Regions from separate parts of the Homo sapiens genome. Here region 2 is linked to region 1. Evidence: promoter capture Hi-C in 16 types of primary human blood cells and fetal thymus (Javierre and others, 2016). All regions are on one chromosome and are shown on one strand. Each heading gives the region's core, a stretch centred on a gene start or on the middle of the fragment in contact. The rest is flanking DNA. Distances are from core to core; before and after follow the strand shown. Region 1 overlaps ANO10 (anoctamin 10). Region 2 holds the start of TOPAZ1 (testis and ovary specific TOPAZ 1).

Region 1 (4,952 bases), core at 1,053-3,552:
GACTTAAAAACATAATGCTAAGTGAAATAAGCCAGACACAAAGGGACAAATAAATGTATTATTTTCTTTACATGAAATGTCTAGAACAGGCAACATCACAGAGACAGAAAGTAAAGCAGAAGTTGCCAGGGACTAGGGGAAGGGGGAAATGGAGAGTCATTGCCTGCTGCGTACAGAATTTCTGTTTGGGGTAATGAAAAAGTTTTGGAAATTGATAGTGGTGATGACTGCACAATGCTGTGACTATAATTAATGTGACTAAATTACACACTCAATATAATTAAAATTGCAAATTATGTTATTATATTTTACCATGATAAAAAAATACATTAAAAAAAAGCTCTACAGCTATTTCTGCATCTACACTTTCACCATTCTTTATGATCATAGCAATATTCTGGTGTTCTTTTCTAGGAAAACCCTGTGACTTTCATCATGTCATTGCATATATAGCACAAGATCCTCCTAAGTCTTGTGACTATTCATTTACCTACAAACCAAGAGCTTCATACAACTTTATGCATTAGGGATCTGTCATTTCACTGCAGTTTAATATAGACAACTGTGTTCTGCTCTCTGTCTTTGAAAGTATTGATGCTGGAAATGTAACTGAATCAAGCAGGGTTTTTACTTGCAAGCCACAAATACCAATTCTGGTGTATCTGGGCAAAGAAGAGGTTGGTTAAAAGGTTATCAGGTAGTTCACGTACCCTCTAAAAGGTCTAAAGAACCAGGCTGAGCAGTCATACAGTGAGGAGCAATGTCCAAAGTCATATCTAGAGCTGGTTCAGCAATGATGCCAGGCTGCACACAGGCACAACACCATTGGCATAGCACTGCCACAGCTACTGTCAGCTGAGTGGATTCTGCATGGTACCTGCCTCTTGGGGTCCAAAAGCTTACAGTTCAAAGTTTAGGGTAAAAAATTATTACTGGCTCAATATAGATCATGTGCCCACGTCCATACCCCAGAAGCAAGGGAGGCTGGAAAGGGAGTACCTGCATTATCAGCTTCTATAGTGGGAGGGGGCATCTGCCATGAGGTCAGAGATTCTCTGGACACAGGAAAGAGGTTTATGTGTTCAGTGATAAAACAGGATGACTCATGTATATTACACCAGTCTTTCAGGCAAACCAATATTCAAACCTGTCAACTTAAGCTAAGTATGCCTGAAAAGGGGGTTCTCAGCAGAGGAAACAGCACAGCCTACAATACCAAGTAAGCAAGAGCTCATTCCATTGGAGGAGTCACATGAGCTGAGTATTATTAAAGTGGAGAGAGGAGAGCAGCGGAAAGAGCTGCATGATTTCATGAAGGGCCTCGAAAACTACACTAAAATCTGGGCTTTAATCCTGAAAATGGTAGAGAGGCAGTAAAGGCTTTTAAGGAAGGAGTAAGATCAGATTTCTGTTTCAGAATAATCATTTTAGCAGCAGAATGGATTAGAGAGCACCAAGACTGGGGAGCCTGGATGCCAGTTAAGAACATGCTATGCTGTAGCAACTCAGAAAAGGAATAATGAGGGCTTACCCTAAGGCTACACACAAGGCACTGAGTGGAGAAGAAATGGGTTAGATGAAACAACCACCTGGACAGTAGCTGTTTGAGTGTGAGGAGTGAGGATGACTAACCCCAAGTTCTGGTTATGACTAGATGGATGGTGGTAGATGAACTCAGCTTTGGACTGCTCAATTTGAGATCACTGGGAGACATTCAAGTGAAAGCAACGAAGGTAAATACATACACAATACACATGTAGATGTCCAATGGGCACTGTTAGGCGTAAAGGTAACGCAAGCCATGGAGTAGACAAGCTCACCCAGGGGCTACAGAGGAAGTCATGGGGTAGATGAGCTCATCCAGGGACTACAGTGGAAGCTGTGGAGTAGATGAGCTCATCCAGAGACTAGAGTGTAAGCCATGGAGTAGATGAGCTCATCCAGGGGCTACAGTGGAGGTGGAAGTCATGGGGTAAACAAGCTCACCCAGGGGCCACAGTGGAAGCCATGGGGTAGATAAGCTCACCTAGGGGCTACACCTGGAGTAGATGAGCACAGGGGCTACAGTGGAAGCCACGGAGATGAGCAGATGAGTTTAACCAATGATTGAATGAAGAAGAAGAGGATTGGGAAGGAACCTTAAGAAAGAATAGCCCAGGAAGAAGCTCAGGAACAGGCTTAAGGAGGAATAGCCAAAGAGGTAGGAAGAAAACCAGGAAACGAATCCCTCATAGAAGGAATGACTTTCTAGAATAACTGAGTCATTTGCTTCAAACAAGCATTGTGCTTGGTTGGGGGAAATATTCAAAGAAAATTTTAGGCAACAGTTTTGTCAAGTTTCCAACTCAATTCCTTTTAACTCCCCCTACCCTACCTTTCCCATGTAGATCCTGAGAGCTGTCTATAAGTGGTAATTGCAGCATGCCTGCAACAGTTCCTGCATTTACAGTCCACCCCACAGCAGTAATCTGGCCTGGCCCTAGAGACCAGGAAGGTTTCCTCAAGATGCTTCCTTCCCTCCCCAAGTACCCTGTGCAATGATTATGTGTTGCACAGTTGGGGCAGGTGAGAAAGGGGGAAGGAAAGGGAACATGGATTTACTGATGCAGATGATTCACTGAACTGGGTTTCTAGTCCACCCAACTGCCCACTGGGCTCCTCTTGCCTGTTTCACAGGTACCTTAGACTCAGCGGGACAATGAACACATCTGGGCTCTTCTGCCAAAACACAGATCTCTTCCAGCATCCTTTATCTCAATAACTGGCCCTCCTCCAGTACCCAAGCCAGAAACCTACAGTCACTCATGATATTTCCTCTCCCCTAACACACAGTGTATCCAACACAGCACCAAGAACTCTGAATACTGCTTCCAGTACATGCCTCTCCAGAAGAGTCACTGCCTGTCCTGTTCCAATCTACCAGGATCCTTCCCTAGAACCACTGCAGTTACCACCTAACTCACTGACTCTTCCAACCCCTCTTAAACATTCTCCATGCTGGGTATGAGTGAGAACCATCCTCCAAGTTGAGCAAGACAAGGGTTGTTTTGGTTTTACAAACTGCAAATGTGTTGAGGTCATCACCACAGCCATACTCTTACCCCCCACCGACCAATGACTGCCCAGGGCTCTTAAGTGAGAAAAAGGTATCCTCAATGTGGCCTGTGCAGCCAGGTCATCTGGCCTCTGTGTCCTCTCTAGCCTCACCTCACATTCTTTCCTGCATCTTCATAGCTCTGGGACTCCATGGTCCCTGGGCAGGCTATCCTCTCTGCCCAAAGCATTCCCTCCACAGTCCCTCATCCCCATCTCTCACTTCAGGCTCCATTTTACTGGATACTTCTCCTTAAAAACACCTTTCAGACTCCGGACAAGGTCATGTTCCCCTACTCTAAACTCAATCCTTTTACATCTATCTGCATGACTATCTGGTGCTTTGTGTTCATGCTAGATAAAGCTCCAGTGCCAACAACCATTCCTGCTTCTGCTCAGCCTTAGCACAAGGTGTGAGCACCCAAGTATCTGCTAAGTGAGCACCCCCACGAGGCACAGTTAACCCCATGGTCAGAGGCCAGTGAACTTCCCTTCTCATCACCACAAAGTACTTTCACCATAATTAGTGGGAAGAAGTAATGTAAATGGGATAGAGTTATTAGGCAGGGAAAGATGTTTTGTCTCTCTTCTTTCCTCTTTCTAAGTTCCTAAAATAAGCTTGCAAGTGGTGGTGAAGGGAGCTGATGCATTTTCAAAGAGCGGTGGCCCAGTTTTCAAATTTGTTCCTCTCCATTGTGAGTTTTCCTCCTTCTGTTTTCAATATCAAAATGCCTCAATTTATGAGAAATCTAATGACAGTTGGTCACTTCAAACCTCAGATTTTCTGGAAATCATTCCTTCTAAATCCAAGGGTCTGCTGCCACTGTAGTGTACCAACAACATCGCTCCACTTTGGATTTATTTAGTTGTTTTGCAACAGAGTCATTATTCTATCTTCAAATGACAACATTTAATATATTCTAGCATATTCACATAATATACTTAGAAAGTATTAAGTAAAAAAGTCATTAAATGCAGTACACTTAGAGAAATAAAAGCACTTGAATGATGAAAATGATGAAACCTTAAAAAGGCTGCCAACTTACTTCTTTAGTCAGGGACATGACTAACATATGGACTGTAAAATTACCTTTCCCATTTTAGATTCACTTTCAGAATTAGCAACATGTTAATTGTCCTGTGCAGCCACCAAATCTTTAAATATCTTTATATTTTATTAATCTCTCTAATCAACCATCATTTTGACAAGTTCCTCACTGGATTTAGATATGCAACATGTATGATTATTTTTGTAACACTAGAAACAGGGCCTCTGTGGAGTCTTGTGGCTCTCTGCCAGCCACGGAGAAGCGTCAGCATGCATGCCCACACGGCAACACAGAGGATTAACTGACCAGGGAAACAACTGCTAAAAGAGCACCAGAGTTGGGAAACAATTTCAACATCCTGAGACGATTGAAAATATATCAAGAGAATGTATAGTATAACATATACAGAATTTAAAGAGGCAAAACTAAATGGCAATTGATGTCAGGAAAGTGGTTATTTTGGGTTGGTGGTGACTAGGAAGAGCATGAAGGGGCTTCTGGTAAAACGTCCTATGTCTTATGAATATGTTCACTTCTTGACACTTCATTCAGCCTAACATTCATAACCAGTATCTGTATCTATGCTACACCTTAACAAGCAATTCCTTAAAATATTTTGAATATTTACTTAAGATAGCCTATAAATAATATAGAATATAGCATCTATATTCTTATTTTAGCCCTACTTTAATCAGTAACAGCAGAGGTCCCTTAAGTTCTCTTAGGGTCTAAAATAATCTCTAGTCTACTGGTTGACCTCAACAATAATGAAAAACAGTATATATTTATAAAATACACACATACATATGT
Region 2 (4,952 bases), core at 715-3,214, 720 kb after region 1:
TCTATTTAATGTTTATAATCAACTAGGCATTATTCTAACTGCTTTACAAATATTGGCACATCTAATTCTCATGAGAACTCTGAGGACACACTATTTCATTTTACAGATGAGGAAAGTGATATATAAAGTGAGGCATAAAGTGAATGTGGAATGAGCCTGAAGTGCTTATGATAACTTTTTATAAATTCTGCTAGTCTTAAACTGATTTTCCTTTTACTAAGGGTACTTACAAAGAGAAAGAAACAAGGATAATTTCTGTATCTTTTACACCTCTTTTACTTAAGTTCTATTTTATAAAAGCTCCTCAGAATACTTGACCTGAGCTTCTCATCCAAACTGCCATATTAGTCACACTCTATGCATCATACCTACCATTCTTTAATGCATTGTATTCAAATTCACCAGGTCCTTCTTTAAACACACAGAAAGCAAAGATTAATGGAAGGTATCTGCACTTGGTTGGAAGGAAGCTACTAAGGGAGACACACAAGTAAATAGTTGAACTGTGTGTTCGCAGACAGGAAGGAACACTTTACCCCTCAAAGTGCAAGAACAGTTGCAGGAAGGCTTCCTTGATGGGTGATCCTTGCATGAATCTTGAAGGGGAAATATGTAGTTTACCAGGCAGACAAGCAAAGGAAGACTTTCCAGGACTGTCAGGTACAGAAGCACAAGCATAACAAAAGTATATGAAATCTGGGGAACTTCAGGTAGTAGTCCAACGTGGCTTATGGGCAGGCTATGTGTGGTGATAAGAGATAATTTTCAAAAAAGAGAAAATAATGGCTGTCATGGATGAACATGTATTAAAGATTATATTCTCCCATCAGGCAGATTTTATAAACATTGGTTCAAAGGGTAAGTCCAAACAACAAACATTCTAGACCAGGAATGAAGTGAATGTGGAAATGGAGGCAAAACTAGCTTCTTCCACAGTGAAAATGGGAAGTCAATTAAACTTCTATTGGACAGAATTTGGATTTCTATAGACCGTTATTTTGTGTTGCTATCGCTTATCTATAATTTACAGAGTTGTAAAATAACTCCCATAGAATCAGAATCAGATAATTCAGAAGGGTGACTTCTATGTAGTTTTCCATCAAAGCACAACTTTTACCCTACAGTGGCAGTAAGAGAAAACTAGTTAATTTTTCAGAGGCCACATCAGATAGGGTCACAGATACCACACCAGAGTTTGGATTTCTGTTAGTTTTAGTCTTTGAGCAAAAGAAGTTCATGAAGGGTCAAACTGAGAAGTGCTAGGATCTCCTGTCATCGGAGAGGCATGGCCTGGCAAGGAGGTGGACGTTTGACTGGAATAGCTCAAGGATGGATTCAGAGGCTTGATGCAGTAGGTCAGTCAAGAAAGTCTGAGGGCCAGAGCCACGGTAATGGCAAACGGGAGAGTGGCTGACAAACAAAATACAGTCAAGTAGATCTAGTGAAAGTGGATGTGAGGGATGAAGTAGAAAGAAGGTTGTCTCTGATGGTTTCTAGGTTTCTGGCTTAAACAATTAGGCGCATGGTGGCGCATCCACCTATGTGAAAGGAGCAAGCTTGTGAGGAGCGATGAGCTGGTTTGCCCATCTGAGTGTGAGGTGCCTGTGGAATATGGAATATCCGGGTGAATATATCAGGAAGACAGTTAGACAGGGGCTTCTAGGAGACTTGGTGTGGAGTTACAAGCCACTGACAGTGGCCTTTGCGAGCAGCCAAGGCGCGAAGAGCAGCAGCTGGGAGAATGAGCCCTGAACGGTTCCAGGAAGCTCAGCCTAGTGGAAGGGCCAACGGAGGCCTGTTATGTGATGAGCCCCACTACAGTCCCTCGCAATGCAATCGGGCGCGGCCACTGCCTCCCTCGGAGCTCCGCGAGAGGCCCTCCAAAAAGACGCTGGCACGGAACTCGCGGCTCTCCTGCCCGTTGGATCCCGAAGCACCAGTCGGGGCCCCAGACACGAGGCCCCACTTCCGCTTACGCGCCCCACTTCCGCTTCCGGCCCCGGGCTGTGGTGACTGGCGGTGTGGGGTGGGTCAGAGGGCAGTAGGTACCTCCAGGCGGGAGCAGCGTTTGCACCGCGGTGGGTTCCTGCGAGCTGGTGCAGAGGGGCCCCAGCGGGCCGGCCCCGGGGCACATGCGACGACCTCCACCCCTGGGCCCCACGACGGCCTCAGGGCCTGAAGGCAATGTGCGAAACCTGCAGAAGCGGCAGGCGCCAGGGCCAGGCGCGGCGGGAGGCTGTGGCCCTGAGGCCGGGGGGTGCCGGGAAAATAAGCAAAAGAGGAGAATGGTGGCCCGGGCCACCCCTGGGAGAGGCGAGGTGGAAAGTGATAAGTCGGTTGCAGCATCAGGGGCTGGAAAGGCCGCAAGGCGTCAGGTGGAGGGGCGCAGGGGCCCGGTGAGCCCGTCAGACTCGTCAGACCCGCGAGGCCTAGAAGCAGCAAAGGAGGCTGAACTCCCCTTGCAAACGGAAAGACACAGTAAGAAAGCATCCACGATCACTTACCTTTAGCCCTTGTACCTCAGCGTGCTCCATCTTTGTTTTACCACTAGTCTTTAACTTGAACCTGCATGGTTATTTCTGATGCACATAGTTGACCAGGAGATGGGAAAAATGGATTTCCTTAAAAGGGGTGTTCCCTGTTAGGAATCCTTGGTCAGAATTATGATAGGAGGAATTCCTACTTGTGGTCCATTTTGGCTAGTATGAGATGACGATGTTATAAGGGTTATTCAGTTGCCTTAGAATTTATACAGGTTTATATGTAATTCCTTAACAGAAATTAAGGCTTTCATTTAAAAACAAATGTGTATTTACATACAGCTGTTCAGGGAAATAAAAATGATAGCCTCACAATTTTTAATTTCAATGATAATTGCATTTTCCTCCTCAATATAAAATCTTTTCTGATATATTTTGTTGTTTTGATCAGCCAAGGAAAAAAGAAAAGTTACTGAAGCCTCAAGTGATGATCCACAGCCAGGGCTTGACTTGGTAAGAAAGGAATCATTAACCAGTTCGGAATCTTTCCAAACAGTGGAATGCTTGCAGTCTTTGGGTAAGGAAAGTATAATAGAAGGTATTAAAAGAAGAATTCGAAATAAAAAACTTAAAAGCTTAGAAAACCCACCTCTCAAAATAACCGAAAATGAGGCTACACAAAATATTAAGGTTGAATTCCAAGATGAACTGTACAAGAATACTCCAAAATATTCTTGTAATATCTTGTCACCTGAAGTAGAAAATAATTCCGTTTTAAAATTACGTGATTGCAATTGTTTCCCCCATTCCAAGGGTTGTAATGATGAAAACAACCTGCCATATAAACCTGATGGTGGATGTATGCATGTAGCAGAAAATTTCTCAAAGAAAGAAAACCTTAGGAGTCTTGCAGAGAAGAGTGACACAAATAGTATTCCTCAGCTCTTACAAACAGAAGAAAATGTAATGGGAGTAAATAAGTTACTACCAGAAGAGAGTGATTTATACCAAAGTAAAACCAATGGCTTGCTTTCCTGCCTTCAACATGAAAAAAATAAATATTCAATAGAGGAGAGCAGTGTTGGGCGAAAACCCAGGAAAAGGATGAAGTTGTCTGAAAAAGCAGATGAAACAGTTACTGAGATGAACTTCTCTAATGAGTATAACAAGTCTGAGTTGATGTTGCAAGAAAATCAAATGATTGCTGATGGTAAAGAAGCAGAGACTAAAAGTCCTTTAAATGTTTTGAGAAAAGTAAGCCATAATACAGTCTCTTTGATGGATCATTTATTAAGTGTCCCAGAAACAGTAGAAAAAGAAACAAGTTCTGAACATCATGTAAATGCTGTGTTTCAGAAAACCATTGAACCACTTTTGAAAGAAGAAACAGAGAATGCTTCAGAGCCGTTAGGTTATGAAAGCATGGCATCGAAAGAGGATTTTAAATCGATGAAAAGCTTCATAGGGAAATCACCTAATGAGTACCATATTGAAAGGAGATCTTCACGGGAAGACTTAAGAAGTGCATCTGAAGAATTGAAGTTAAGCTGTCAGAGAACAATACCTATGACTGGTAAAAGAACTTGGCCCTATTATTCATGTGCTAGAATATCTGCCTGGTGTTGGAAAAAGGCTTCCTTGCCAGAATCAAGTTACTTTCTTCGTGGGTCTCAGGAAAGTTGTAGGCAAGTTGATGTCCCTAAACACCAAACAAACCAGACCCATTTAACTGACTCCAAATTATTATTACAAAGTTCCTTAACAGAAACAAACACTGAATCTTCAAGTAAAGAAAAATTAGATTCTAATTCTAATTGTTTGTCTTCAGTTTCTGCAGTAGAACCTACTTTAATGGTTATAAAGGAACCTATAATCAAGGATGATAAAAAGATAAAATCAGAGGAACTGAGCAGAAGAGGGTCAGAGGTAATTTCTAACACTACTGAAGATACTCAATTAACCAGTGAGACTCAAAGCTTAACGGGAAATAAAAAAAAAGCTAGAGGAAATTTAACGAAACTTAATTTGACAGCGACTTCCAAAGATGGTCAGGAAGCAAATAACTCTGCAGGCAAAACTATTCATCGAAAAGCATGCATTGCTCAACAAACATTTATAGTTCCAGACTTGGTTAAAATATTGAACACAGGACGGCTGACTAATTTTAAAATTCCTTTACTTAAGAATAAATCAGAAAAAAGAAAAGAAGTAAATGCCAAGTCATCAGAGAGAGAAGCTTACAGTCCTCTAGAACTTCTGGACAATTTATCTGGAGCAGACGTAAGACAGAACAGGAGTAAAGAAAATGTCTCCATGATGATGTTAGGACCTCAAACTTTGAGCATACGAAATAGTGTAACTCCAGTGCAAGCTAGTTCTGACTCATTCTACAATAAGAAATCCTATAGTATTTCTCCAAGCTTTACAAAGCAAGGTAACAATAGCAAACCATCTAATCACGTCTCTGAACCA

What was found. The method cuts DNA at HindIII sites, captures the fragments that hold promoters and counts their contacts. A CHiCAGO score of 5 or more calls a contact.
Region 2: a contact is called between the fragment with the promoter of TOPAZ1 here and a fragment that was not itself captured in region 1, in 4 of 17 cell types (naive B cells, total B cells, activated CD4 T cells and 1 more). The highest score is 7.5, in naive B cells.

What each region holds. Positions count from the first base shown.
Region 1 is chr3:43,522,003-43,526,954 of GRCh38, forward strand. The region is part of intron 11 of ANO10 (anoctamin 10); the gene reads right to left. Among named protein-coding and RNA genes, the nearest start is that of ANO10, 98 kb to the right of the region's middle. The HindIII fragment of the contact is 2,813 bases long and covers 897-3,709 here.
Region 2 is chr3:44,239,922-44,244,873 of GRCh38, forward strand. TOPAZ1 (testis and ovary specific TOPAZ 1) reads left to right here and starts at 1,965. Exons shown (of 20, transcript NM_001145030.2): 1 at 1,965-2,478; 2 at 2,932-4,952. The coding sequence starts at 2,133. The HindIII fragment of the contact is 1,559 bases long and covers 1,555-3,113 here.